Linked DNA regions of Homo sapiens: regions 2, 3, 4, 5 and 6 are each linked to region 1. The links are contacts of gene promoters, found by promoter capture Hi-C in blood cells and fetal thymus (Javierre and others, 2016). All regions are on one chromosome and are shown on one strand. The core of a region is centred on a gene start or on the middle of the fragment in contact, and the rest is flanking DNA. Distances in the headings are between cores, read along the strand shown.

What was found. The method cuts DNA at HindIII sites, captures the fragments that hold promoters and counts their contacts. A CHiCAGO score of 5 or more calls a contact.
Region 2: the fragment with the promoter of NT5C3A here is called in contact with the fragment with the promoter of DPY19L1 in region 1 in 1 of 17 cell types (total CD4 T cells); the score reaches 7.0 in total CD4 T cells.
Region 3: a fragment that was not itself captured here is called in contact with the fragment with the promoter of DPY19L1 in region 1 in 1 of 17 cell types (total B cells); the score reaches 5.5 in total B cells.
Region 4: a contact is called between a fragment that was not itself captured here and the fragment with the promoter of DPY19L1 in region 1, in 1 of 17 cell types (total B cells). The highest score is 6.2, in total B cells.
Region 5: a contact is called between a fragment that was not itself captured here and the fragment with the promoter of DPY19L1 in region 1, in 3 of 17 cell types (total CD8 T cells, activated CD4 T cells and non-activated CD4 T cells). The highest score is 5.7, in total CD8 T cells.
Region 6: a fragment that was not itself captured here is called in contact with the fragment with the promoter of DPY19L1 in region 1 in 2 of 17 cell types (naive CD8 T cells and total CD8 T cells); the score reaches 5.9 in naive CD8 T cells.

Annotation. Positions count from the first base shown.
Region 1 is chr7:35,035,502-35,040,234 of GRCh38, reverse strand. It overlaps DPY19L1 (dpy-19 like C-mannosyltransferase 1), which reads left to right and starts at 2,750. Exons shown (of 22, transcript NM_001366673.1): 1 at 2,750-3,138. The coding sequence starts at 2,841. It overlaps LOC105375228 (a long non-coding RNA gene), which reads right to left and starts at 3,449. Exons shown (of 3, transcript XR_001745162.3): 1 at 3,314-3,449. RefSeq lists an enhancer at 1,911-2,140 and silencers at 2,191-2,860, 2,891-3,060. The HindIII fragment of the contact is 4,166 bases long and covers 178-4,343 here.
Region 2 is chr7:33,060,360-33,065,092 of GRCh38, reverse strand. NT5C3A (5'-nucleotidase, cytosolic IIIA) reads left to right here and starts at 2,317. Exons shown (of 9, transcript NM_001002010.5): 1 at 2,317-2,525. The coding sequence starts at 2,388. LOC124901610 (a long non-coding RNA gene) reads right to left here and starts at 1,908. Exons shown (of 4, transcript XR_007060279.1): 1 at 1,445-1,908; 2 at 946-1,064. RefSeq lists an enhancer at 1,803-1,962 and silencers at 2,203-2,322, 2,623-2,682. The HindIII fragment of the contact is 6,622 bases long and covers 1-4,733 here.
Region 3 is chr7:36,392,931-36,397,663 of GRCh38, reverse strand. It overlaps ANLN (anillin, actin binding protein), which reads right to left. Exons shown (of 24, transcript NM_018685.5): 2 at 1,245-1,398. Among named protein-coding and RNA genes, the nearest start is that of ANLN, 5.4 kb to the right of the region's middle. The HindIII fragment of the contact is 5,776 bases long and covers 1-4,733 here.
Region 4 is chr7:36,368,348-36,373,080 of GRCh38, reverse strand. It overlaps a transcript of MATCAP2 not described here. Among named protein-coding and RNA genes, the nearest start is that of MATCAP2, 3.5 kb to the right of the region's middle. The HindIII fragment of the contact is 2,022 bases long and covers 884-2,905 here.
Region 5 is chr7:36,281,873-36,286,605 of GRCh38, reverse strand. EEPD1 (endonuclease/exonuclease/phosphatase family domain containing 1) reads right to left here. Exons shown (of 8, transcript NM_030636.3): 5 at 1,786-1,920. Among named protein-coding and RNA genes, the nearest start is that of MATCAP2, 83 kb to the left of the region's middle. The HindIII fragment of the contact is 2,536 bases long and covers 1-2,518 here.
Region 6 is chr7:36,160,861-36,165,593 of GRCh38, reverse strand. The region is part of intron 2 of EEPD1 (endonuclease/exonuclease/phosphatase family domain containing 1); the gene reads right to left. Among named protein-coding and RNA genes, the nearest start is that of EEPD1, 10 kb to the right of the region's middle. The HindIII fragment of the contact is 2,559 bases long and covers 1,367-3,925 here.

The DNA.
Region 1 (4,733 bases), core at 1,501-4,000:
GGTTTCCATTCCTCCACCCTTCCTGTGTGAAATGCCTCCCTTTTGGGAGGGGGCACGAGGAGTTGCCTACTATTTTATCCAGGCCTAAGGACCCATGAGATGGGCAACATTTGTAAAGCATCTGTGGAAAGCAGGAAACCATTCAGGCACATCAACTGCCCAGAGAGCTGAGAAGCTTGAAGCCCAGCAGGCCTGGCTTAAAGATCACGTGGCTGTTCTTGCTCTCCCGCTCAGAGTGGCATTCTCCCCTTGCTATACCCCAACTTGGAATGTCAACTTCAGGTTCTGGGAGGACAGAAGTTTGCCACTCTCCTTAAACGTCATCCACTACTTTGAACACTTATTGAGCAACTACCAACATCCAGACAATTTGAACATTCACTGAGCAACTACTTGGATATATGTAATTGTTAGATGCTTTACACACATTGTCTTATTTTTTACAAACCTGTGAACTAGATGTTTTTGTTGCCTCCATTTTAAGAATGAAGAAATCCAGACTCAAAGAGGTATAATACCTTGGTCAAGGCTGGTATGGGTCAATGTAGTGGCTGCAAACTGGATCTAAATTGACCGTGTTTAAGAAAAAAACAAACAAAACAAAAAAACCAAAAAACTAATACCTCACACTGCCCCTCTCCGCATGGTTGCCAAGCCGAGAAGGGGAACTGACAAGCACTTGTGGAACTGCATTCATTCACTCACTCATTCAACAAGTGTTTTCCTGGTACAAACGGTACCAGCTTAAGGGAGGCAGTTCCTGAATTCAGGGCCTATCACATAAAGTAGACACACAGCAATCTAATAATTCAAATGTTGAACCTCTTTTTCCATGCGTCTTTCTAATCATTAAAAAAAATCCATCATTTGTATTATTTTTATTTATTTATTTTTTTGAGATGGAGTCTCGCTCTGTCGCCCAGGCTGGAGTGCAGTGGCGTATCTCAGCTCACTGCAACCTCCGCCTCCCGGGTTCAGGCGATTCTTCTGCCTCAGCCTCCCAAGTAGCTGGGACTACAGGCGCCTGCTACCACGCCTGGCTAATTTTTGTATTTTTATTAGAAACAGAGGTTCACCATCTTGGCCAGGCTGGTCTTGAACTCTTGGCCTCGTGATCTGCCCGCCTCGGCCTCCCAGAGTGTTGGGATTACAGGCGTGAGCCACGGTGCCCGGCCAGTTATTCGTATTATCTTTAATAGGCATTGAATTAGCTTTCTTTTAACTGAATACATTCAACATTAATCCCAGAGGTAGCATTGAGTTCAGCTGACACAATGTTTCAGAATCCAAGCCTTCTGCATCCTACTTTCAACCATTATTTTTTAAACCAGTGTATAAAAATAGTTGTTCTTTGCTCCAATAAAGACATTGGAAAATCCAAATTCATAAACTAGACAGGGTATGAGGGAGTATTAATTAGCATGGCAAACACCCTCCCTTTACAAAATAATCCACTGTCTCTTAAAAAGGCTAACAATGAACGAATGCTGGTATTAGTAAAGAAATCACTGGGCAAAGAAACAAAGAGCGAGAAAGCCACGTGAAGTCCCTGGAATTACAATAGAGATAAGCAGAACGATGGGCCTTGATTTACAACATTGGGACTTAAAGACAACTTTTTGGAACAAGCCACTGGGCACGGCCAGGAAAGGAACCTCCCAGTTGTAATCCATGCTGTTGTAAGACTGTGTGCAAAGAATGCAGGGGTGGAGGGAGAATTGGGATCTACCTGGGTTTCTAAATTTTCCCGGGTTTAATTTACTCGTGCATTCTGCTATGTAAAAGAAAACATATTTTCGACTAAAATCTCCTATCTTATCAACGCCAAGTTTTCCTGCTTCCTATTAAGCAACAAGGTTACAGCAAGTGTAACAAACTGAATGTACTTATTGATGATCTTTCCTGCTCCAGCCAATCCATCCTATCACCTTCAGCCTGGCTCCTACCCTGGTCTTCAGTTTACACTTGTGCCTCGTCCCTTATCAGCTCCCCATGAGATTCCAGGCTGCTATTTTAATACTCTGTTACTATCTTAAATCGGGTCGCACCCGTTCTTCTTGTCGGTGAGTGAGGGGCTGCGCTCCAAGTTGCGCGACCACACTGCGGGGAGTAAACGGAGACGGTGACTTGATTGCCACCCGCGCGCTTCACATCGGTGGGGCCGACCAGGCGCCCAGGGCGCACGCACAGCGCCCCTAAGTGGCCGCTCCGGGCGCCTTCTCCCTGCCCCGCCGCGTCTCGCCTGCGCGGGCTCCAAGCGCAGCCTTAACAGGCTCCGAAACTTGAATCAGCGCCCCGATCCCGAGAGGGCTCTTCCTTCGGCCCCATCACTCCCACAATGGAAGGGCGGCCGCCTCCGGAAGGCCGTCCGCCCCCGCGTCCTCGCACCGGCCGAGCCCCGCGCGGGCGCCGAAGAGGTGTGGGTAGCCGGGCGCCAGAGGGGTCGGGCCCCGCCTGCGCCGGAAGTCCGCGCGTGCGCGCTGGCCGGCCTGGAGCGCGCGTCCGGCGCAGAGGGGCGGCGGGGGCGGGGCCGCGGCCGCTCGCAGGGTGTCCCCGCCCCCGCCCCCCGGCGTTCCGCGGTCGCCGTGACAACCGGAGCGGCGGCAACGGCGGCGGGCTAGCAAGTCCGGCGCCGCCTCCCGGCGGTACTGCCAGCCAGGCAGCAGCCGCCCGGCCTCCACGATCTCCCCGCCTCCCGGCCCGCGGGGAGGGACGAGCCCGCCCTCCACCCTCCGCCCGCCCGCCCGCTGGAGAGTGAGCTGCGCCCAGCCGCCCAGCCAGCCCGCCGTTCTCTGGCCGCCGTCCGGGCGCGCGCAGCGAGCGGGCGCGACTATGCCAAGATGGTCCTGCAGGCGCGGAACAAGCACCGGGAGGCGGCTCCCAAGCCGCCCCAGCCACCCCGCGCCTCACAGTCGCCGCTGAGGGGGGCGTCGGACGTCGGCGCCGGGGAGCCGGGGCCCGAGCGCGCGCCCCTGTCCCCGGGGCGCAAGGGCGCCGCGGGCAGGAAGGGGCCCCGCGCCGAGCCCGGCGCGCCGCCCGCCGGGGGCGGCCTTGGGGGGCGCCTGGCCGCCCGGCTGCGCTGGGCGCTGGGCCTGCGGCGCGCGGGGCGCGGCCGGACCTGGACCACGCTCCTGTTAGGTGAGCAGCCCTAGCGCCGGCGCCGCCGGGACGCGGAACTTTGAGGCGCTGGCCCCCTCCCCTCCCCTCCCCTCCCCTTCCTTCCCCTCTCCTCCCGCTTCCGCCGCGCCGAGCCCCGCCAGCCGGACCAGCCAGTTTGCAGCCCTCTCCGACTTTTTCTCTGGGACATTCTTACCTTCTCCTCCCCGCAACTCCCTGGCTCAGCTCTCCTCGCACGCTTCCCACCCGCGCTCTGCCTGGGCTTTAAAAGAATGGCCCGGGGATCAACAGCTGCCCGGCCTGGCCGCGGGCAGCAGGTCTGCGCTAACGAGACTTGAGCGCTGCTGATTGGTACGACTGGCCGCCTTCCCGTTATCTCGGCCTCTGACCGCCAGGATGGTTTGCTTTGGCTTGGAAACGATTCCGTGGAGCTCAAAGCAAACGCACGTTCCATGTCGTAGAGAGTTGCTTAAACTTATAATTAAATTTTAGCGTACTTTTTTCTTCCTGGCCGCAAACGCCGCTGGTGGCACTTTATTTGTGATTCCCCTCGACACGTCACTTTCTAGGTTGTGTTGTGTTTGGGGCGCCCGAGCCTTAATCCTCCCTGCTGCCCTTGGAACCTTTGGTGAGGAGGGCTCTCCTCCCCTCCCTCTGCCATTTACCAAATGGATGATGTGTAATGATGTGCTGAAAAAAAAAAACAAAGTTGACGCATTCGTATGTTTCGGACTGACTTCAGGTTTCCTCTGTTTCCTGGTTGAATTTTGATAAGGCAAGTTGTAGCAGTTTGGATAACAGGCCTAATTTTTCTAAGTCAACTAGTGAAATGCTGTTACATTGCTTTTTTCTATATGCCTCAGTGGGCTTTTCGCTACTGAACTATTTAATTACTGTTGATTTATCCCTTAGTATATTTTCAGATTCCCTTGGTGACTCAAAGTTCCCTTAGCCAGGAGTTGGGGTCCAGTATAAGTCAAGGAATAGGACACAGCAAATTGGCTTCCCCTGAGATCACAGCCACAAATAAAAGCCACTCAGTCATAAAAAGCCAGTCATCTCTGTATGTTTTAATGGGCTCAAGAAGGTTGTTCCTAGGGTACTTTTTTTCCCCCCATTGCCGATTCAAGCCTAGAAAAACCAAGTTTGTTTTTCTTTGTTTGTTTGTTTGTCTGTTTCCAGCACATTTCCCCCCGCCCCCTTTTTTTTTATCTCAGTAGCAAGCTTGAAAAGCTGGCTAGTATGCAGGTTAGAAAAGCTCACCTTGGGGAGGCAGCACGATACAGTGGATGAGGCAGAGCCTTCAGATCTAGTACACAGCGGTTCAGTTTGGTTTAAGTTTCAGGTTCCTTTGTGAGTCTTTCGTTCTCTGCTAGTGGGGGGTTATCACATGGCGAATTTACTCCACAGGGATCCACAGGATCTGTTAAGGATCATAACTAAAAGGTGTGGGTGATACATGGGAAGATACTTTGTGTTTAGAGCACTTGACACATTGTAGTTGTTGTAATAAAAGAAAGTGTGTGATGCTGATTTGAGATCTGATGACAGAATGGAGTTGCATTTTTATTGAATGACTAAACATTAACCACTTTGTAGTAAAATATAGAATGGCA
Region 2 (4,733 bases), core at 1,068-3,567, 2.0 Mb after region 1:
TTGGACTCATCCCGCCTGCACCCAGGTGAAATAAACAGCCTTGTTGCTCACACAAAGCCTGTTTGGTGGTCTCTTCACACGGACGAGAGTGAAACGCAGCACCATGCCCAGCTAATTTCTTTGGTTTTTCAGGGATTGTAGAGACAGGGTCTCGCTATGTTGCCGAGACTGGTCTCAAACTTGTGGCCTCAAGCAATCCCCCAACCTTGGGCTTCCAAAGTGCTGAGATTACAGGCACCAGCCACCTCACCTGGCCTGATTTCTTTCATCAGTATTTTGTAGTTCTCCGTGTAGAGATCTGTACTAGTCTGTTTTCAGGCTGCTGATAAAGACATACCCCAGACTGCGCAATTTACAAAAGAAAGAGGTTTAATTGGACTTCCAGTTCCACGTGGCTGGGGAAGCCTCACAATCATAGTGGAAGGCAGGGAGCAAGTCCCATCTTACATGGATGGGAGCAGACAAAGAGAGAATGAGGAAGACGCAAAAGCGAAAACCCTGATAAAACCATCAGATCTCCTGATACTTAAGTCACTACCACGAAAACAGTATGGAAGAAAACACCCCAATGATTCAATTATCTCCCACCAGGTCCCTCCCACAACACATGGGAATTATGGGAGTATAATTCAAAATAAGATGTGGGTGAGGATACAGGGTCAAACCATATCAAGATCTTCCATGTCTTTCAACAAGAATAATTAATATGTTAATTCACATAGAAGCTGAAATAGTCTCCAAACATGGCCAACCCTCTTAGATTCAGAAACACAAGGTTTACACTTATAAAAAACATATGGACCCCTTTCCTCCTGGAAATTTACTACCAGGGTTTGTAGTCTAATTGACTATACTCCTACAGCTTTAACATCTCATATAGATGATAATCAGACCTATGATATAGTATAACTAGTTAAAATAGAAATCATATTTCAGAGTACCCACATTCTTCCCATGTGCAGTTGACGGGCCATATTACAAAAACAAAATTTGGAACTCCATTTCTGTTTTAGATTGTCCACAGCTTCAAGACGAATGTTATCGTCTACAAAATGTTTAAAATCCTGAAATTATAGAAACGTGGCTTTAGTCTCTACCCATTCAAAATAATATGTAATATATGGAAAATGTTTTTGTTGAGGAAGAAAGATAAATGAGACTGTGACCATCTTAGGCCTCACAATCAGACAACATTTAAGTCATATTGGTATTTGGTGCAAAACTGGATTCATAAAAAATTACTTTGGCGACAAAATGACACAGTAGTCTAGATATTGATACTCAAATATTCTGGGTATTAAAACTCAGTCTTCTTCAGGTTATACTCCCAGCTAACTTACTTTGGGACACGTTCTCGGTCTATACTGAGTCTGTGTTCCCAGGCTTAAGTCCTCAAACTTGGCCGAGTAATAAAACTAACCATGATTTCTTTAAGTTTTAGTACCTGTTATTTCACCTTTCGGTCGACAAATCGTTTTTCTCATGTTCCTCTGTCTTACATCAATTTAATTTGTAGACCAGCCAAATGACCTAAAAGGCTAGAAGGAAACAATTTTTCCTCCCCTACAACTATTTCCTCTAGTCCTCCGGCTGAAAGTTGTTCCACGTCCTGGGCAGAGAGAGCCCCACCAGGCAGCACCACCAGCTCCACAGAGTTGGAGCGATTCCCCCAAGAAGCTCCCCTGCGCCCCTCCTCACCCCCAGAGACCAGCAGAAGAAATGGCATCTATCCCTTGGAAGACACTAGGCAGGAGAGAACAACTGCAAGCCCTTCTGCTCACACAGAAAAAAGGATGGCGGAGGTGGCGAATGGGATGTAGCAGAAACCCCGCGGCTGCGGCGGAAGGGACACCGCCCCTCTCCAGCCTAACTCTGAGCCATCTTCCCCCTGTTGTTATAGCACTTAGAACGGACGCCACTGCGCAGGTCACACCGTGCCGCGCAGCCTTCTGGGGGTCGGAGTCCAGAGGGGCTGAGGCGCGAAGGCGGAGACCGACTTCTTAGCGGGCCGCAGTTGGAATTAGATTTCTACTGGGGCGGGGCTCGAGCGAACCACGGCCTAATCCTCATTAGCAGAGAAGGATAATTACCGCAATACTCTGCCCTGCCCTGACAGCAGCTCGTGAGACCCTGAGTCTGCTGAAGGCCGCCTCCAGCCTGGGCTCCGGGCACAGGCCACACCCCTCCCGCCGCGTCCTGGCCTCTCCCATCGATGGCGTGTGGGTGGGGCTTCGTGGGGGCGGAGCTGCGCGGGGCGGGGCGTCGCTGCGCGGGGCGGGGCGTCGCGGGCTCGTCCGTGATGCTCTGGGATCCCGCGCTTCCGAGACTCGCAGTCTACGCGAGCTGCCTGTTTTTTTCCTGCTTGGACGCGCATGAGGGCCCCGTCCATGGACCGCGCGGCCGTGGCGAGGGTGGGCGCGGTAGCGAGCGCCAGCGTGTGCGCCCTGGTGGCGGGGGTGGTGCTGGCTCAGTACATATTCACCTTGAAGAGGAAGACGGGGCGGAAGACCAAGATCATCGAGATGGTGAGTGTGGAGGCTCGGCGCGCCCAGAGCACGCGAGGGGCCGGCTGGGCCGTCCGCTGGCCTCGGCAGCCTGTGCTGGGCCGCTGTTCGGTCGCGACGGGGAGCTGCCGGCGTCGCCTGTCAGGCTGGGATCTCGCTAGCTCGGGACGCGCAGCTTGGGGGACCCGGCCGCCCCGCGTGCGGCCACTCCGCGGGCTTGGTGACCAGGGTTGGGTCCCCGGCTGCGGCCCTTGGCTGCCCGTGGTCTTTGTTAGGTTTCCGTTTGAAGGAACAAGGCAGAAAATAGATGAATCGGACACAGGCTACTTTGTGCTGCAAAACCCGTTTCTCTAGAGATAAGCTGCATGTCCTGGGCAGGTGGCTCCTTCTCTCCCTGCCTTGCTCCCGCCCTCCCCCCGGATCCGCGTCAAACCGTTGCCGCTAATCTAGTTGCAATTCCCGCAGAGGACTAGTTTTATGTTGGGGCTGCCGTGAGTTAGATTATGAAAATGTGCAATATCTAAAATTTTACAAGAATGGCAATCCAGGAGAAATTCAGGATAGTTTATTTTGTATTTGAATGTATTCCTTCTTGTCTCAAAACTCCCACGAAATATCTTTGTTTTCATCTTAACTCCCAAAGCTCTTGTATACATTTTCGAATTTAATTTTTTATTGAAGAGGGTGTCTCAAGAATTCCCTTTGAGATACATTATAAGTAATTGTTTCAAAAATGAGGATATTTAGTTTCGTTTTGTATTTTAATTAGAACCCACTCAGGAAGACAATTCTTGCACAAACTTGCACGCTTATGTATTTCCTGAAATGCATAATCCTGGGTATACGCCTGACCGTGTGCTATACATGTGAACATCTAGGGTCAGATGATTTATGATAGAAAAAAATTTAAAATCTACACTAAATAATATCATTTTAGGGTGTAATACTTGGAATTTCTGAGCACCTGCAATATGTTCCAACTGACGAAAGACACGATTTGTCCTATTGGTTGTACTGACCCCAGGTTGAATACAGATGTATTTGCATAATTAAAATTAGCCAGTGTCCCAGCTATTTGGGAGGCTGAGAGGAAGATCACTGGAGTCTGGGAGTTCAAGGTTATAATCACACCTGTGGATAGCTACTGCACTCCAGCCTGGGAAACATAGCGAGACCCTGTCTCTTAAAAAAAAAAGTTAATTCCCACTTGTCTCATATTCCAATAATATTCCCTAATTTTGAATTAATTTATTCTTAAAGGGTCTTAATAATTCTAAAGGCTTATTAAAATTCATTTGTCCCACATCTGTATGCCCACAGCAGCAAATGGTTTTAACTCAGAAGTTTCATTTTGCTTTTGTTGCTTTCCTGCTTAGAAAACTTGGCTTTCTTTTGCCCAAGGTTAATAATGCCTATGTAGGGGAAAAAACCGAGTTGCCATATCTCCCTGCCTGTGCTTAAACTATGGATTGGTCTGTATACCACTTATCTAAGCCAAGTAAGGTTAAAAATCAGTGTGTTCACAAAATCCTTCAATGATACCATCATAGGAACAGTTTGCTATCTTTGTGACAAATAATGAAGACCTATCTAGAATACCAACTTATTGGTACTAAAGAAATCAGTCAATATTTACATGTATGCATAGTATATTAATTCAGATTGTAATATATGTGTAGCCTGCTAGTAGCTTTTCAATGGAAAAAGTGAAAAGAGCTTCATGTTAACTTTTTTAATTTTAATAGGTTGCTTCTTCAAGTGGAAGAAGTATTTGACTGGGGGTCAGAAGACCTGGGTTGGAATCCTAGTTCCATCTTTCTGTAATAATGTAGGTCTGCTCTGCCCATCCTCTGCCCTCCTCCCTCAGAAAAATCTCTGCAAACCCATGATGTCCAACAGACATAGCTCATATTGGTCACAGCTAACGGAGTTAACTACCTAACCAAGTTGGGCCTATCTAACTGGCTAAGAAAACCAATAACTTCTGGGACTTGGTCAAAATGATGCATTGTCTTGCAAGAGTTTTTAATTGAGAGACATGAGGAAGTTGCTAGTGGGTTGTGTATGCTACAGCTGAAATATCCCATAGGGCAGCAAGATTAATGTACAGAAGAAGCCAGTCATGGCTAGGCATGGTGGCTCACACCTGTAATCCCAGCACTTTGGGAGGGTGAGGTGGGAGAACCCTGTCTCAAAAAAAAAAAAAAAAAAAAAAAAAAGAAGGAAAGC
Region 3 (4,733 bases), core at 1,078-3,577, 1.4 Mb before region 1:
TGGGATTACAGGCGTGAGCCACTACACTTGGCTCTTTTTTCTTTTCTTTTCCTTTTTTTATTTTTGAAACTTTCTAATGTTTTATAACTCACTTATCGATCTATTTTCTATGAACACATCTAATAATTTTTGAAAGTGTTCCTGCTTTAACATGCAATACCATCTGGAAATACAGAATTCTTCTAGTTTACAATTATCTAAAACAGTAAATGTGAACTTCTACCTAAACATCGAAATGTAGTTTTGAACTTCTACCTAAAGAAGTTTAGGTAACACTGGTTTCAAATACATAGCACTCAATAGTACAAACCCATCTCACAGTGAAAACGAAGATCCTGGACTAGGGTCAGGCCCCTATTTTCCTGGCTGAATACCATATAATATGTAATGTATTTCCTTCACTCTCCCTTCAAAATGGATAAACGTATGAAAACTAATTCTTGTTCTATGATTAGCTTCCAAAATAACTGAGCTAGCCCCATGTACACTTCTCTGCTTTCTTTTTTTTTAAAAAAACATTGGTTTTGCCCTCTGTAATTTTTTCTATATTTTATTTTACAGTTGTATTACAGTATTTTACAGTCGTACTAAGGAAGATTATTATCTCCAGACTATTCTACACTCCAGGAAAAGACTAAGGAGGCTGTCTGATGCTGGCTGGGAATCAATCCTAGGATTGAGGAAAGAGTAAGACTACAGGTGAGTTTTTGTTTGTGTGTATGTGTGTGTGTGCTTGTGTTTAATTCCACCACTTCTGGAGATTAACAACCTAAACTTTAGAGAGTTGGTTCAGCAAATAGAGAGTGAAAAGGGTTCATTAAATGTCAAGCATGGGCAGTGTGCCTTCCATTGCCTTGCTGGTACCGGAGACACCACCCAAACTCAGTGGCCAGCTGTTCTGCCACCCCTGGGATAAAAAAACTACACACTACTGTAAGTATAAATGTTACCCTACTCCTTTATTTTTCTTCCCTTGAGGTTTTAAGGATAACTTCAGAATGAAGAAAATAAAGTTCAATCAATTAATTTAAAATATTTTTTAGAAGAAACCGTTCCAACCCTATAGGTTCTAGGCCTAATATAATAACTCTGAAATAGAATAGAAGGCTGTTATTTCCCCCAGAGGCTGTTACATTTGTCTCCCAAAGAGCTTGGTTCTTCTATATGCTAATGAAATGTTTGGGGCTTGTCTCCTTCAAAAGAAAAAAAAAGTAAATGTTATTTTTCCCCACAAAGTCTTTTACCTTCACCACCAGAGAGGGGCTGCTGGTTACTTGCTTCTGAAAGTGGCTGTCTAGCTCGCTTAGCATGAGTCATAGACCTTGGAGCTGCTGTGGGCCTCTCAGCCATTTTTCTCTGAAGATTCTCTCGCCTGGCACGGGTTCGCTCCAGCAGTTTCTACATAAATAAATATATCAGTGTTAAAACACAAGTTTAATCAAAGGTTCATAAAATTGCAGTATCTTCTAAAATCACCAATTGCCATACAGGATGACAGTTAAACACATTTCAAAAGTGAAATCCTAAGCAATTATGTCAAGATTCACTAAATGAGTACCCCAATGTCATAACTATTACAGGAATATTACAGAAGGAATAAAATATGTAAAGTTAGTTATATAAGATTTTTAACGGCCACAAATTTTTTCTGCTTTCATCAAAAGACAGAATCTATTTCTTCACCCTTGAATCTGGGCTGGCCTTGTGATCTGCTTTGACCAATAAAATATGGTACAAGTGATATTGTGAGACTTTTAGGCATCAAGAGATTTTACAGTTTGGGGTCTCTCTCTCTCTCTGCCACTAAGTGAACATGCCCAGGTTAAGTCTACTAGAGGAGACACATGGCCCAGGTGATGGTCAGTATCAACTACCAAACATATGAATAAGGCCACCTTAGACCATCCAGCTCCAGATAATCTGCCAGATCACTGAAGATTCCTGCATGACCACTGCAGAGACAAGCAGAAGAACAGCCCGGCTGAGCACAATACAAATTGTTGACCCACTGAATCATGAGAAATAAGAGTATTGTTTTAAGCCACTATGGTAGGCAAAATAATGGTCCCTCAAAGATTTTTTGTCCTAATACCCTAAACCTCTGAATATGTTGCCTTACAGAGCAAAAGAGACTTTACTGATGTGATTAAGAATCTTTAGATGGAGATAATCCTGAATTATCTGGTCAGGCCCAACATAATCACAAAGGTCCTTATGATGGAAAACACAGAGGCAGGAAGATCAGAGTCAGGGAAAATATGACCATGGAAGCAGAGGTCAGAGTAATGTGATTTTTGGCTTTGAAGATGGGGGAACAGGACAAGCCAAGAAATACAGATGGCCTTTAGAAACAAGAAAAGTTAGGAAACAGATTCTCCCCTACAGCCTCCAGAAGAAACACAATTCCACTGACATGTTGATTTTAACACAGTAAAATCCATTTCAGATTTCAGAGTGAGACCCTGTCTCTAAAGAACTGTAAAATAATGAATATGTTATTTTAGGCCACTAAATTTGTGATAACTTGTTACAGCAGCAAAACTAATAGAGCCACTAAAATCTGGGGTGGTGGTAAGCAGCAAGAGATAAATAACATATTAGTCCTTTGAAAACATAAAACACTTCCTAAGAGGAAAGAAAAACAAAATAATCTTATGTTTTATTTAACTAAATATTAACATATAATAAAATGGTTTTAAATTGAAATCTTAGCCATTCCATAAAGTCATGAATACTCCTTTCTACTCCAAATCAACTGATGTTCCTATTTTTAAGTCAATTTTAGTAAAGCTCAAACACAAGACCCTGTAAAACAATTCATTTTCTTTCAAATGCACACAACTAAAGGAGGTATGCAGATTATTATTACTGCCTTGCATACTCAGATACAGTAGTTAGTGCAGGCTGAAAAATTAAATTCCATTTGACTCTTTTTAATTCCTTAAAATACAGTAACAATTTTTTAAAAATCTGAGTATGTAAAAGAAATATGAGCTAAATTTGAAAGAAGGCACACTCTCTACTCTTCTTAAGAATGATTTCTAATTTAAAGTTCATTGAAAAAAGTGACACTAAATTGAAATGCTCTAATCACTGAAAAAATAATTTATGAACCAAATGGCTTCCAAAATACAAGACCTTCACCCGCTAAATAAAAGTCCTTCAACAAATTCAAGAATAAGCATATTGTTTCACAAATCCATATATGTCCGATAATTTCCCCCCATGATACAATATGAGAACTAAAAATAAAATACTAATCCTCCCAACCAACTGAACAGATCCCCTCTTGATGAAGGGGACCCCAGAGAAACCTTAAAAACCGAGTTCTCAGCCATGATGGAACAGGAGGCCGCATGCACCTTGTTATACCCCTCCTTTTGCTGTTTAAACACAATAACTGATGAGCATTAATGTTAAATAGAGATCATAAGACTGACAGAAGACTCTTTGTAGCAATAAGATATCAAATTATAAACAGGATCAAGCCTAGGCAACAAAGCAAGATCCTGTCTCTGCAAAACATACAAAAGTTAGCCAGGCATGGTGGGGCACATCTGTAGTCCCAGCTACCTGGGGGGTGGGGTGGCTGAAGCAAAAGGATTACTTCAGCCCAGGAGTTCAAGGCTGCAGTGAGCTGTGATCGCTACTGCACTCCAGCCTGGGTAACAGAGTGAGACCCTGTCTGTAAACAAATAACTAGGACCTAAGGCCATGCCAGGCAAGGGTTAAGTCACAAACTCCCTACACTTAAAAAATAAACTATCTTCTAACTGCCAAAGTTTTTCTTTTACTCTAGTAGCTGAACAAGCACTGACCTTGAGATAAGCAATAAATATTAAAACAATTGCAGCTCATCTTCCATCAGACACTGACTAACCCTCCTGCTCCACAAGCTACAGCTACAGCTTTAATTGGACAAGAGATTGATTTCAATAAATCTATCTCAGTAAGAAGACCACCAACCATGAACTGATTCTGGCCAGTTTACAGAGGCTGCTCACTTGAATGCCTTCATGTCCCCACCTCACCTTTTGACATATAGGGCCCAACTGTAATGTATTTCCACGTTAAGTCTTCATCCCAAAGTGAACATGGGATGCATGTAACTGCACGTTTGTTCAGTACCCACCCATCAGGACCCCTTTGTAAATACTCATAGCTCTGCCTATAACCTGTTGAATATGTATACCTGGCTAACCCTTTAGGCATAAATCCCTGTTCCAGCTTCTCCTCTCTTGAAGTGCCTGTTTCCAGTCTCTGCCCGAAGCTATTAAATATGTTTCCCAGCCTGTCAGGATGGCCACACTGTAGGCTGTAAGCCTTTATAAGAAAGTCTCTGCTGGGCACAGTGGCTCATGCTTGTAATTCCAGCACTTTGGGAGGCCAAGGCAGGCGGATCACTTGAGGCTAGGAATTTGAGACCAGCTTGGCAAACACGGTGAAACCCCATCTCTACTAAAAATACAAAAATTAGCCAGTTATGGTGGTGCATGCCTGTAGTCCCAGCTACTTGGGAGGCTGAGGCAGGTGAATCACTTGAACCTGGGAGGCAGAAGTGACACCGAGCCAAGATCGCACCATTGAGCTCCAGTCTGGGCGAGAACGAGACTCTGACTCAAAAAAAAAAACGAAAAAAGAAAAAAGAAATAATGTCTCCTTTCTAAATTAATAAATTTGTAATTTTTCAATTGCTATATCTCTCACTTCCCAGATACAACACTAGCCTAATT
Region 4 (4,733 bases), core at 645-3,144, 1.3 Mb before region 1:
CAGGCTGGAGTGCAGTGGCACCATCTTGGCTCACTGCAACCTCCGCCCCTGGGATTCAAGCAATCCTCCTGGCTCAGCCTCCCGAGTAGCTGGGACTACAGGCATGCACCACCACACCTGGCTAATTTTTGAATTTTTAGTACAGACAGGGTTTTACCATGTTGGCCAGGATGGTCTCGAACTTCTGACCTCAGGTGATCCGCCCACCTTGGCCTCCCAAAGTGTTGGGATTACAGGCGTGAGCCACCATGCCCAGCCATCATTTTTACATATGTATGTACATACCATCAGTAAGTTCTTTGAAGGTAGGTTTCATATCTTTTTCATCATCTTTTTACCTTGTATATAATAGGAACTTAAATATCTGTGGAAGGAGTAAGTTAATGCACATCTTGGTTTCTCCAAAATATAATAAAGAGCAGTATCTTTTTGGCTGATTAAAAAACATCCTTCCTCCCTTAATCATTTCCAACAAACATTAAAAACATCATTTACACACATGTAAAATCACAGTGTTCCCCAGGGTTTTTGTGCTGTTCTATTTTCATTGAGGTAAAAAGGCAGAGGCGTTTCACAAAGCATTCTTTTATTTGGCTTCTACTTAACGCTTTTCATTCTCCTGAATATAGACATGCTGCAAAACATTCCATTCTCTTGATATAGACATCCTGAAAGCATTCAAACTTCGCTGAAATTTTTTTTAAAGCCAAGGAAAAACCAATTCTACCAACTATTTCCTAGATTTCTTTTTTTTTCCTCCTCTTTTATGAATCAAGAAACAATGTTCACAGTTTGCCCTGAGGCGTCTGGTAATGCTTATCAGAATCTGAGGTATTGCAACTAGAGTTGCTCTGTTCTTTTATAATGGTAGGCTGCAGAAGCTTCCCTCCCCATTTTTTAAGTTTCTCATCTGAAACTTACAAGTAAGTAAATATAATGTTCTAATTCTTTTTGTGTTAATAAGATAAAAACCTCTTTTTAAGAAATTAAACTTTTTTTTTTTCAGTTGCAAGCATGATATGCTCTCAAAAAACTGAACTTCTGCTATAGAAAGTGAAGTATTACAGACTGGGCATGGTGGCTGACACCTTTAATCCCAGCACTTTGAGAGGCTACAGAGGGAGGATTGCTTGAGGCCAGGAATTTGAGACCAGCCTGGGCAACAAAGCAAGACCCCATTTCTATAAAAAGTGCCTGTGGTCCCAGCTACTTGGAAGGCCAGGGTGGGAGGATCGCTTGAGCCCAGGAGTTATGATCGCGCCACTGCACTCCAGCCTGGGCAACAGAGTGAGACCCTGTCTCTGGAAAAAACAAAACACAAAAAAAACCAAAGTGAAATAATATACTTTTCTTCCAGTAGCAACACTTTCTGGCAGCCTTGTCCATGCTTTACCATCTCTCTCTTCCTCTTTCTTGGTCTTTACTAGCCTCTATCCCCTATCAAGGTAAATGATCAAACTTCTCCTGAGTCTTTAACAAGCAGGATGTTGATCTTTTTTTCAAAAAAGAAAATGATCTTCTTTTATTACACAGATGGTTTAACTTACTTTTTTTAATACCAAAACTCCATCAACTTATGAATAGTAAATAAACATTTGTCAACATCTGTTCTACTATGTAAGAAGAATATAGAGATTAACATGAGTAGTTAAACAAGTTACTGACAAAATAAAAAAATACTGGCTCACATCTGTAATCCTAGCATTTTGGGAGGCGGAGGCAGGCAGATTGCTTGAGTCCAGGAGTTCAAAACCAGCCTGGCAACATGGCAAAACCCCATCTCTACAAAAAAATACAAAAAATTCGCCTGGCCTGGTGGCACATGCCTGTAGTCCCAGCTACTTGGGAGGCTGAGGCTTAGGTAAGAGGATTACCTGAGCCTGGGAGGTTGAAGCTCCAGTGAACCATGATCATGCCATTGCACTCCAACCTGGGCAACAGAGTGAGACCCTGTCCCAAAACAAAAAATGAAATAAAATAAATACGTTCTTTACCTATAACATAACAATCCTGCTACAAATAAAATAACAATATTTCTATCAAAACACCTATTTTTCTATTATTTTAAATCTAAAATTAAATGGAAATCATCCTTACAGATATTCATTAATCAAAATGTTCCACAATACAATGCTTCTAGAATTCATAAAGATGACCATAAAAGGAAAGTGAGTATATCTCAGTAAGACAACTGCAATGGCATTTTTGGTTATTATTGAAAAATTTAAGTTTAATAAAACTTTAAAAAGGGTGAAGGACATCCTTAAAGATAAACATAAATTATTAAAATCAGTTTTAATGGCGAGGCGTGGTGGCTCACGCCTATAATCCTAGCACTTTGTGAGGCCAAGGTGGGTGGATCACCTGAGGTCAGGAGTTCGAGACCAGCCTGGCCAACATGGTAAAACCCTGTCTCTACTAAAAATACAAAATTAGCCGGGTGTGGTGGCGCATGCCTGTAATCCCAGCTACTTGGGAGGCTGAGGCAGGAGAATCACTTGAACCCAGGAGGCAGAGGTTGCAGTGAGCCAAGATTGCGCCACTGTACTCCAGCCTGAGCAAAAAAAAGAGCGAAACTCCATCTCAAAAGGAAAAATAAATAAATAAAAATAAAAAACAAAAGCAGTTTTAACAAATTCCTAACTTGATCTTGAAATCAGTGCCCTAAAAATGGAGCAGTAATATAATTAAGTCGATCATCTTGTCTCAATATTAATGGTTAATATAGAAACAGGTATAAAGGAAAGTTTCTCAGAAAGATGAGATTGTTCATTGTTCTTGTGGATATGTAAAAACAATGCTGACTCAAAAGCAGCCAACTGGACAGCTGCAGATGCTGAACCCAATGGAAACACTAAGCAGGCATAGCACGAATCAGTAATTAACAAAGCAGATGCAGAAAGCTTGATGAGGATGAATAATTGCATAGATGGGAATAGTAAAAGGAGCTGGTAACAGTACAAGTTTTATAAGAAGTTAGATAAACTCTTTGTATTCATGAATTTGTTAGCAAGAGTGCTTCAATAATACACAGAGATATATTTTTTAAATGTTTTGATTACATTATAAATACCTTTATATGGTGCTTATCACTAAAGATATTTAAAAATTATCCACAAGAAAATATTGGTAGGGTGAACATAAAAATAATTATAAAAGTAAAGAATGATATAATATTCCAGGTAGGCTAACTACAGAGGCATCAAATTTGTTTATTTTTGGAATTCTTAATTGTAGTGAAGTGTTGAAATTAGAATGCACATCATTTTCTAATTTTTATATGTATGTATACATGTATATATATATACACACATATATGTATTTTATAGAAAATCTTCCCTGCTAGTCAGGACTGTCCTTGAGGATAGGTATCATCTTTTGTTATGTACTCCAAAAACACCAAGCCCAGTGTCTTCTATATAAATAAATACCTGTGGAATGAGGAAGATAATATGTATCTTGGTTACTTAAAATATAATGAAAATAGGCAATATGATTAAACATACTTTAGTAAAAGCACTGAACATATGACTTGGTAACATCTTTTAGGAGGCTTTCTTTTTTGAGAAATAGCTCTTAAACTGCAGTGACTGTGACTTTAAAAACTAGAAATTTGTAGAGGTAATAGATGCATTTATAGCAAACTTGGAAAACAGCTTTCAGAATTCTGGGTATATAAGGAAGCCAACAGCATGGTTAATTTAGAGCCTTTTTCCTTAGGACATATGTTGCAAGAATTACTACTCTTACAAATGCAGCAGATTCATTGCTCATTACTATAGCAAGTGTTTTAACTCAAAGCAGATTTGTTCTTCGTCTATTGGTCCATTTGATATAATTCTATATTATTTTAGTTATCATTGAAAATGCACACACTTTCTGTTGTCTACTTATTCATTAATTCACAAATATTTATTAAGGACCTACTACATGCCAGCCACTCTTCTTGGTGTGGGAATATAGCAGTGAACAAACAAAAATCACTGCACTTGTGGAAATTTTATTCTAGGGATGGAGACAGACAACAGTCATGATAAATCAATAAAATATATAATAAATTAGATAATGTTAAGTGCTAAGTAAAAAAAATAAAGCAGAGAAGGGCTATAGGAAATATGAAGGAGTAGAATTTTAAATAGAGTGGCCAGGGAAGGGCTCACGAAGAGGTGACATTTGGATTAAGTCCTGAGGAAGTAAGGGAGCTAGTCCTGCGGATATCTGAGGGAAGAACATTCCACGCAGGGAGGATTCCAAGTTGCAAAGGCCTTGAGGTGAAATAGTGCCTGGAATTGAGGAATATCAAAGAGGCCAGTGTATCCATCGGGGAGGAAGTAGTTGGGGATGAGATCAAAGAGGTGACAGGAGGCTAGGTCATAAAGGACTTCACAGGAAAGGAAGCCACTGAAGATTTTGAACAGAGTGACATGATCTGATTTTTTCACAGGTTCACTCTGGCCAATGAGTTTTGAGAACAGTGTGAAAGAGGGTAGGGTGGGAATACAGAGACTGTCTAGAAGACTGCCATAATCCAGACAAGAGGTGGTGGTGGCTTGAACCAGAGTGGTAGCAAGTGGCTAGATTCTGGATGTATTTCGAAAACAGTAGTCACAGGATTTGAAGACAGAATATGAAGTGAGGTTATCCAGTTTTTGTGATATAGTTACATTTCCATTGTTCTCTCCTAAGTGATGAAAAAGACACAATTTCTCACAAGTTGCCTGTCATTCTCAGGG
Region 5 (4,733 bases), core at 1-2,500, 1.2 Mb before region 1:
TAGGACATGCCCTAGCCCTGCATCCCCAAGGGCAAGTGCAGAAACACAGGGTCAGAGTTTGTCTCTGGGCATCACAGCACTGCTCAGCTGCTCAGGGCTTAGCAATCTTGCCCTTCCATTTGTCATGGCAACCAACATCAACACTGCCAGGAAGGGAAGGGGTATAGGGGAAGCCCCCAGGAAGTGGAGGGTGCCCGTCTTATCTTACGGATGTGGTCCCAGTTTGCCAGCAACCAGGACCAAGAGCTCTGCAGCTGCAGCTCTGCCTGCTAGAGAAAGCATCTTAAGGCTGGGTGGGGGGCACAGTGCCTGAGGAGATGAGCCCCATCTCTGTACTGCACCAACTGCCAGGCCTATAATGTGACATGAAGTACAAGAGGCCAAGTGCCTGTTTAGGGGGCTGCTTTATTTAGAGGATTTGGGCTAACCAGCATTTTCTCATTATACCCTTAAAAACAGCCTGCGTTGTGGTAATACTGGATTATCAGTATCACCCATAGGGTTACATGGCCATAACCCCAGGTGGCCAACACTGGAACAGGAACTTGACATAAAAAAAGGGCCCAGGGTGGTGTTAGGAGGCTTAAAGGTGATACCTGGCTGACTTACACGTCAGTACCACAGATACAACCCATGGACACCCCCAGGTGTACATGTGCAGACAGAGCCCCATCAATATCACAGACAGAGGAATGAGAGGGGCTGCTGGGTGTGACAGATACCCCCAGGGTGAGCACACACCCACCCTCATCAACTCACAGTGTGCAAGGTGGCACAGGGCCTTGTAGCCTCAACACAGGGGCTGCTCCCAACCCTCAGCTGGCAGATACTCCCTGGGCTGGGGTTTGAGGTGACTGTCAGGTTCAAGAACTGCTCTGGAGCACACAGAAAGCAGGGGGTCTCCATGCCCAGGAGGGGATACGCTTGCTGAGCTCCAAGGCACCGGACCTGCTTGCCTGGCCTGTGAGCTCATGGTCAAGGACCACGGGGATAAGGCTCACTGACTGCCAACTTCATGACCTGCTTTGGCTTCTGCTGTCCAGCTGCTGACCATTTTGCGGTTCATTAACACTTCCCAAGGGCATCCGGGGAGAACCAGAGAGACTGCGCTCGATCAATCTGCTGAGCTGCTCCCAGATGCTGGGGGGACAGAGATTCCCACATGGGCGATGCCAGTGACAGGACTGCCCCTGGCCCACAGCCCAGAGCTCCTCCTGAATCCCCTCCAAACCCAAACCACCCCTTGAGAGGCCTTTCTCCCTGGTAATAAAGGAATCGGGCCTGAGATGCAGCCGATAAGAAGGGGCTCCTCAGGCCAGTTCTGCTGCCCTTGAATCCAGCCATTCCCTAACACCTGGCCTTGTGAACCAGTGCCAGGAAGGTGAAGGATCACTGAAGGGGCTTTTGGAAAGTAGGCCATCCGGATAATCCCCCAAATTCTGTATGTCTGAGGTGGGGTCTAGGAATCCCTGACTGTAGGAAAATCTCCCCAGGAGACTCTAATGAGGGTCAGGTTTAGGAGCTATACCAAATCTCCCTCCTTCCCCCCTCTCCTGCTCAGATGCCAGAGTTACTGGGGCTGTCTCAAAATCCCTTTCATTCCTGCCCTGGACAAGTTCACCTGCCAAGGAAGCCCCAGGAGAGACAAAAATCTCCAATCATGAGAGGCTGAAATCAAGGCAAAAAGACGAGACTTCTCTTACTCATGCTATTACAAAATGAGCCCTTTTCTTTCCTTTTTAGAAAGAAGCAGATTCCACGTCACAGACGGCGTGGAGCGGGTACCTTGAACCTCCCGAGGTATGGGCTGGGGCCCGCCAGCTTCCCGTGCCCGTTGCTTGGCGAGCTCTCCTGTGAACCCGCGTCTCTCAGCTCCATGCCGGCAGCCGCGTCCCATAGGAATCCTGCATACCCAGCTCCCTGCAGCGGAGAGGGAGACAGAGTCTTGGTGCCAGAGCCCTAGCGCCACCTGGGGAAAGGAGGCAGAGAGGCCAGAGAGACCGAGAGGCAGTAGGCCCTACTCTGGCTCAAGCTGTTTCTAAACCAAAAGCACACCACGAAAGCCACAGCCACTCTCCCTTGCCCTTCCCCAGCCCAAATAATTTCACATATTGCCAATTTCAGAGCTTTCCATACAGACAGGGTGGCCTGGGCTCTTCTGTCTTTGGGGGGAGGTGGGTGAAGCCCCGGCTAGGCACAGAGATATCTTCAGAATCATCACATCCCATGAGGTAGCAATTCATGCTTCCATTTCCCAGATGAGGACACTGCTGCTCAAAGAGGTTAAGTGACTTTCCTGAAATCCCACAGCTGATCACAATGCTGAGACTAAAACATATAACTCCAAGGGATGGGTTTTGCTTACTGATTAGCTGCAGCTTACAAAAATGGTGCCTGGCACCTAGTAAGAGCCCACTCAGTGTTTTCTGGGTGAGTGGAGGTCGCAGTTGACCTAATGGCTTGGGGCTGCTCGAGGGCCCTCCGCAGGTGGATGGGGCCATGGCAGAGGTGTGAAGCTTAGGTCAGAGGTGCCAGGGCTGGCGGTGGGGCAGAGTCCTAGTGCCTAGTGTTAAACCCTGCTGCTCTGAATATGCCTGCTTTGCGCTGCTGCCGCCGCCACTGGGGGCTTGTGGAAGAAGACACACTTCTCCTTTCTACCCCACCACAGCCTCTGCTGTCCATGAGAATGCTTCCTCAGCACCCGCTGCCTGGGAGCCATCTGCATGTCATTTGAGAGGCCAGCAGTGCTCATCACCACTCTTCCCCATTGCAAAAGGAGGGGAAGTGACTCTGCACAACCACCCTCCTGAGCAGCCACCACAAAGTCCCCAAGGTCAGCTCTGGTCTAAGCCACATGCCTTGTCTGAACATGCGTGTTTTTAGGAGGAGGGAGGGAGGGAATGAATGTATTGTATGCTGTGCACTTCTATATTTGAAATTATCTCCTTGCCCACCCCCTGGAGAGTGTGCTGGTTTGAGAACGAGAAGACCTGGGCCTCAGTCCCACCTGAGTCACTTAGCCGCGGGACCCTGGGCGACCCACTCAGTTTTTCTAAACCTCAGCTTCCTCTGGTTTGGAGGGAGGTATGACTGCCCTGCTGGCTTTGGAGGATTATCTCTCCATCTGCCATTTCCCAAGTCATGGTGCCAGAGTAACTTACCTAAAGCATCACTCGAGTCATCTTCCGCCCAAAAGCCTTCAGGGGCTCCCCGATGGCCCTGGAGGGGAAGCCTCTGCGGTGGGGCCTACTCCTTCCTCTGCCTCCCTCACCTGCTCAGCACTGTTTTCCCCACCCCCACTTCCCTGCGTGCTGCTCCTTCCACCGCTGGTTTCTTGCCCCTCCTGGGAGCCTTTCCCAATGCCCCTGACCTAGGCGCTCCCCTCTCCTCCAGAACAGCAGCCGGAGGAACAGGGTTTCCAGACAGAGAGAGTGAACTGGGCTCAGGTCCGAGCACCTCACATTGCAAAAGGGTGGCTTGTGGGCAAATCATTTCATCTTACTAGGTCTTCACCTTCACAGCTGGAAACCACCCCTCTGGCTATCGTGTAAGCCCTAGGGAGCTGGGGAGAAGATGCCTGGGGCAGAATTTCAGGCATCGGAGAAATGGCCCACTTTCTTATGTTTGTCTAGGGACAGAGATTGAACATTTTCAACCTGCAGATATATTCTGTTTGATTCACATAGTGTTTAAATTTTTTTGGATTATCTGTTCATCTTTAAAATTCAGGAAATTTCCCATTAAAATGAAACTGGGAGGTTTGGCCACATTGGGCCCACAATACTGCAGGGTAACAACTGGGTAGACATGGACCCAGCAGCAGCCAGAGCCAGGCATGAGCTCTCTCAGTCCACTGCAGGCGGCCAGCCTGCCACCTCATGCCCGTTCCGCCTGGCCCTGGCCTGCGCTACGTTCATGATGCATTCCAATGCATAGTATCTTTTAAAATCCTATAGCCACCCTATAGGTGAGCTAAGAAAGGGCTATCGCTCCCATTTTACAGATGAAGGAATTGAGGCCGAGAGGTTTTGGTGGATGGAACTCGGGTCTCCCTGCAACCTCATGTTGTTTTCCAATGGCCTTGACACCCTGACCTGGAATGGGGTTACCTGTCTTGCTCTCCAACAGGCTGTGCACTCCCTGCGGGAGGGGCCAGGTCAGGCTCCAGCCGGGATCCCCACTGTGTCTTGCAAAGAGTGAAAACATGCAGGCATGGAGTTTTTCTCACCAGTGTGTACCTGGCATGAAACAATATGCCTGGTACATAGCCACCTTTCATTAATGATTTGTTGAATGAATGCAGTGCTGAATGGACTATAAAAGGCTTGTGAAGCTCAGACACCTACATACATGTAAAGTGCGATCAAAAAAGGAAGGTGGTATTATTCTTATTATTTCCACGTGGACTGGAAGGGAGAACCCTGAACTAGATGCATTCAAATTCAGCTTTATCTCCAGCCTTCTCTGAATGTGTGCTGACTCACTGTCAGCTGCAGGAGCCATTTACACCCCCAAACATAAAACCCAGAGACAGAAGATTTACATGTACCTCTTTAAGTAGTAGCTAAAAAGAGAGTAGGGGCTTACTGTCAAAAAATGGCCACTTTTAATCCAGTATACATTTATGATTTAAGAGCCTACATTATAAACATAATCATATTAAGTATAAATCACATGTGTTTGTAAGCATGTTAGGTATACTAGGGATTTAAAAATCTGCATTTATAGGAAAA
Region 6 (4,733 bases), core at 1,397-3,896, 1.1 Mb before region 1:
AATAAATTAGCTGGGGCGTGGTGGCAGGTGCCTGTAATCCCAGCTACTCAGGAGGCTGAGGAAGGAGAATCGCTTGAACCCGGGAGGCAGAGGTTGCAGTGAGCTGAGATTGCTCCATTGCACTCCAGCCTGGGTGACAGAGCAAGGCTCTGTCAAAAAAAAAAAAAAAAAAAAAAAAAAAAGGAAATGGATCATTAGGCGATTTCATCATTGTGCAAACTTCACAGAGTGGACTTTCACAGACCTAGATGCTAGAGCCTACTCCTAGGCTATAAACCTACATGGTATGTTATTGTACTGAAGACTGTAGACAATTGCAACACTATGGTATTTAAACATAGAAGAAGTACAGTACAAATACAGTATACAATCTAAAATATGGTACAACTGTGTAGGGCACTTGCCATGAATGGATCTTGCAGGACTGGACGTTGCTCTGAGTGAGTGGGTGAGTGGTGAAAGAATGTGAAGGTCCAGGACATGACTGTACACTACTGTAGATTTAATAAACACTGTGCACTTAGGCTACACTAAATTAAAAGTTTTTTCTTTCTTCACTAATAAATTACCCTTAGCTTACTGTAACATTTTGACTTTATAAACTTTTAAATTTTTTAATCTTTTGACTTTTGTAATAACATAGCTTAAAACTCATAGTACAACTGTATAAAAACATTTTCTTTCTTTATATCCTTTATAAGTTTTTGCTACTGTTAAATATATTTCTTTCTTACTTCTTAAACTTTTTTGTTAAAAACTAAGACACACACACATTATCCTAGGCTTACATGGGATCAGGATCATGAAGATGTCACCAGGCAACAGGAATTTTCCAGTTCCATTATAATCTTCTGGGAACATATACACCATCTATCATTGACCAAAATATTACTCAGTGCTTGACTGTCTTCTCCAGAGATTGACTTTTTCAGTCAATCTCCTAGAGGAAAGAATGGTAGGTCAGTAACCACCTGCAGTTACCTGTTGGGGTCTACAATAAACATGTAGAACAAACACTGAATTTAGCTTAAATAAACAACATGGGTACAACAGTAACCTTTTTAAAAAACATAATAGATGTTATCCTAACCAACCTCCACTCAAGGGACCTACCAAAGTGTCCCCATTCCCTTTGTAAAACAAGTTGATGGATGCCCATGGTGCAATGAGTACACTTGGCTTGATCAGCTGTGAGTAGGGCATCATGTGCTTACCAGAGAGTCAACTGTGCCTGTCCTTAAACTGTTTATGTCAGTTGCACATATTACCATGATCTCCTAAAATGTGGTTGTCAACTGGTGAAATAGAAGCATGAGCAGAAAGATAAGTTGTTTCTAAGAAAACGAAGATGGATACTTGAAAAGCTTCTTAAAAAGCAAGTTGTTTAAGAAATTGCTGTCAAAATAAGTGTGGTTAAGACAATTATAAAAGACAGAAAAGTCATAAAAAATATAGTATCCTGCAATCAGTTTGCTTTGCAAATATCCTTGCTCCACTTTGAAAAGACAAACACTAAGACAAATACATATGTTCGTAGACACATGATGATATCATTATATATCAGTATACTTACGAAAAATCATAACCTAGGGAACCCAAGCCAAGCTGGTTAAGAAAGCATCTAGCCTAGAATGCAGTCTGGGTGATGAATGAAATACAACTACTCTGAGAAGCATTACTGAACAGAATAGCTTTTTTTTTTTTTTTTTTCTTCCTGAGATGGAGTCTTGCTCTGTCCCCCAGGCTGGGGTGCAGTGGCATGATCTCGGCTCACTGCAAGCTCCACCTCCCAGGTCCACACCATTCTCCTGCCTCAGCCTTCCGAGTAGCTGGGACTACAGGTGCCCGCCACCACGCCTGGCTAATTTTTTTATTTTTAGTAGAGACAGGGTTTCACTGTGTTAGCCAAGATGGTCTCGATCTCCTGACCTCATGATCCGCCCGCCTCGGCCTCCCAAAGTGCTGGGATTACAGGCATGAGCCACCGCGCCCAGCCTGAACAGAAGAGCTTTTTATCATCAAACTTTGGAGTCTAACTGCAAAGACTTTGGATTATAAACCAAGTTCCACCCTCTGAAAGCAGTAAAATTTCTCAGCTTCGCTGAGCCATCTCTTCTGTATCTGTAACTTAGCTATGGCCCTCAGCCACAGCAACTGTCAGTGTTAATTATCATTGTTTTTGTTCTAGCACAACCTCTACCACCAAGTGGACACTAAAAGTACACCATCGAGTAAGGGAGAGTAGAGGGACATGAAGTATTTTGCTATCTGAAATGAGTCCTCAAATTAAAACTTTAAAAGATTGGGAATCACTTTGAAAAGGAAAAAAAAAAACCTACCCATAAAACAACACAATAATCTGAAGCCACAGAGGCTGCCCACCAAGAAAGGAAGGAAGGAGCCCTGAGACCACTGGCAGTTAAGACCAAGGCCTAATGTCACCCAAATATTGGCTTTTTCCCATTCAAGAAACATAAACTGCTAAAAAAAAAATTAGACTGAATTTGCTTAACAGAAAATATACTCTAGAGAAGTGTTTTTTTTAAACAGGATATTGGATAGATATTTTTTAAAAAACAACAACCCACCTGAGACCTCCCACTTTTAGCATAAGCTGAAAAAGACAAAGTACTAGTTTTATTCTCCAGTTTTGGGGTGAGCAAACAAGACTTCAGATCCGTAGAACATCCAAAGCATGTGCAACCTTAAATGTGGCAATGGGAACAACGTACTGTCGCTTAAGCACTGCATTTCAGGAGTATACAGCAGCCTCTAGGTAAAACAATTTAAGGCCCAGCTTAACAGCTTAATCAGGTAACGGCTGAACCAAAATAGAATTCACAGGAAACAAGGGCTCGTTGGAAACAAACAACAAATCAATATTAGTTGGGGAATTGTAGTCAGTAAAGAAAATCCAGGTTTTTCTTTTTTTCTTTCTTTTCTTTTTTTTTAAGACAGGGTCTCGCTCTGTGCTCAGGCTGGAGTGCAGTGGCACAATCTCAGCTCACTGCAACCTCCACTTCCCAGGCTCAAGCTAACCTCCCACATCAGCCTCCTGAGTAGCTGGGACTATGGGTGTGCACCACCAACCTTGGGTAATTTTTGTATTTTTTGTAGAGATGGGATTTCACCATGTTGCCCAGGCTAGTCTCGAACTCCTGGGCTCAAGTGATCCACCCACCTTGGCCTCCCAAAGTTGGGATTACAGGTGTGAGCCACCGTGCCCAGCCAACCCAGGCTTTCTTTATTCAAGAGTCTGCAAGAAGGATTCCACACTTCCCTTTATAATGAAATGTTTACTCTGAGCACACCTCTCCAGGGTTCCCAGCCACTTGAGTTCAGCAATTTGGCTGCTGTCAATCAAGACATTACATAAGAACTTTGGCATGTGTACAACACTCATGAGAAGGAGGGTGAGGAAGCTGCTAAGATTCCTAAATATTTGATGAGGACTAACAGCCTGTCAGGTAGAGCAGGACATTTTTGTGGCATTTCCTGGATGTTATGATATGAGAAGTCATCAGTGTGAAATTCTACCCAGGTATAAATTACCACACACAAACCAGGATGTCCATGATGAGCAAATAGAATTTCAGTAAAATCTATCATTTTATTTGTTACTGACACTGATTGTTATTAGGGAATTCTGGGATAAAATCCTTTGTAAGGTAGAGTAATTTTTTTTTTTTTTTTTTTGAGAGAGACAGGGTCTCACTCTGTCACTGAGGCTGGAGAACAATGGCATGATCACAGTTCACCACAACCTTGAATTTCTGGGCCTTCTGAGTAGCTGGGACTACAGGCACGCACTACCCCACTCAGCTAATTTTTAAAGTTTCTGTAGCAATAGGGTCTTGCTATGTTTCCCAGGCTGGGGAAGGTCATTTTGAAATTAAAATGACACACACCTTCCTGCTTATAAGCTTGGCATTTGTATACCGGATTCTCTCACTGTGAGGAGCCTTGTGTGGGAGGCTGCCATGTTCCTGTCTGAGTATTTTGGATCATAAGCCTCAGTGGAGGGCCCGGACCTCCCCCTCCTCAGCCGTGTGTGTGCATGGGGGAGGGTGGATGCTGACTTTCAGCCTCAATTGTCACTATGCCACTACACTCCTTCCTCTCAGACTCCAACCACCCATCCACCTGACTTGGTCCTTTCCCTTCATCCCTGACCGAATGCTGAGGTCTCACATACCTGCAGAGCCAAGCAGACAGCGACCAAGTCCCTGTGCTCTCAGGTCTCTTAGCAAGCTTCACATCCTCCCTCATCCCACACATCATCCTGGAAATACCTGCTGAATGTGTATGTCCTTGAGACGGTGAGCCCCCGACCACAAAGTGGGGTCTTCCTGCGCCCATGCCTCTGACCTCATCAGGTAGTAAGCACAAAGTAGCTGCTCAATGTTGAACTGAATGTATGCGAACCTCTCCTGATAGAAATAGTCACCTAAAGTCCCCAGAGCAAGCCCTGGGTCCATTTGTCATTGATGCTGAAGAGAATATGTGGCCTTGTCAGATGCCCCATCTGCTGAGGGCAGACCATGGCCTCATACTCCATCTGCTATGGACCTAAGTAAGACCCCACACCCAGGACACAGCTGTGGCTGAGGGGAAGGGTAAGGTGAACACCTTGCATCATGTTAAAATAATACAGAGGCATGTGTGTCAGCCCCAGGATTTCTTATTATATATGCCTCTGCACCTATCTCATAGAAACCTCAGAGCATTTCAAA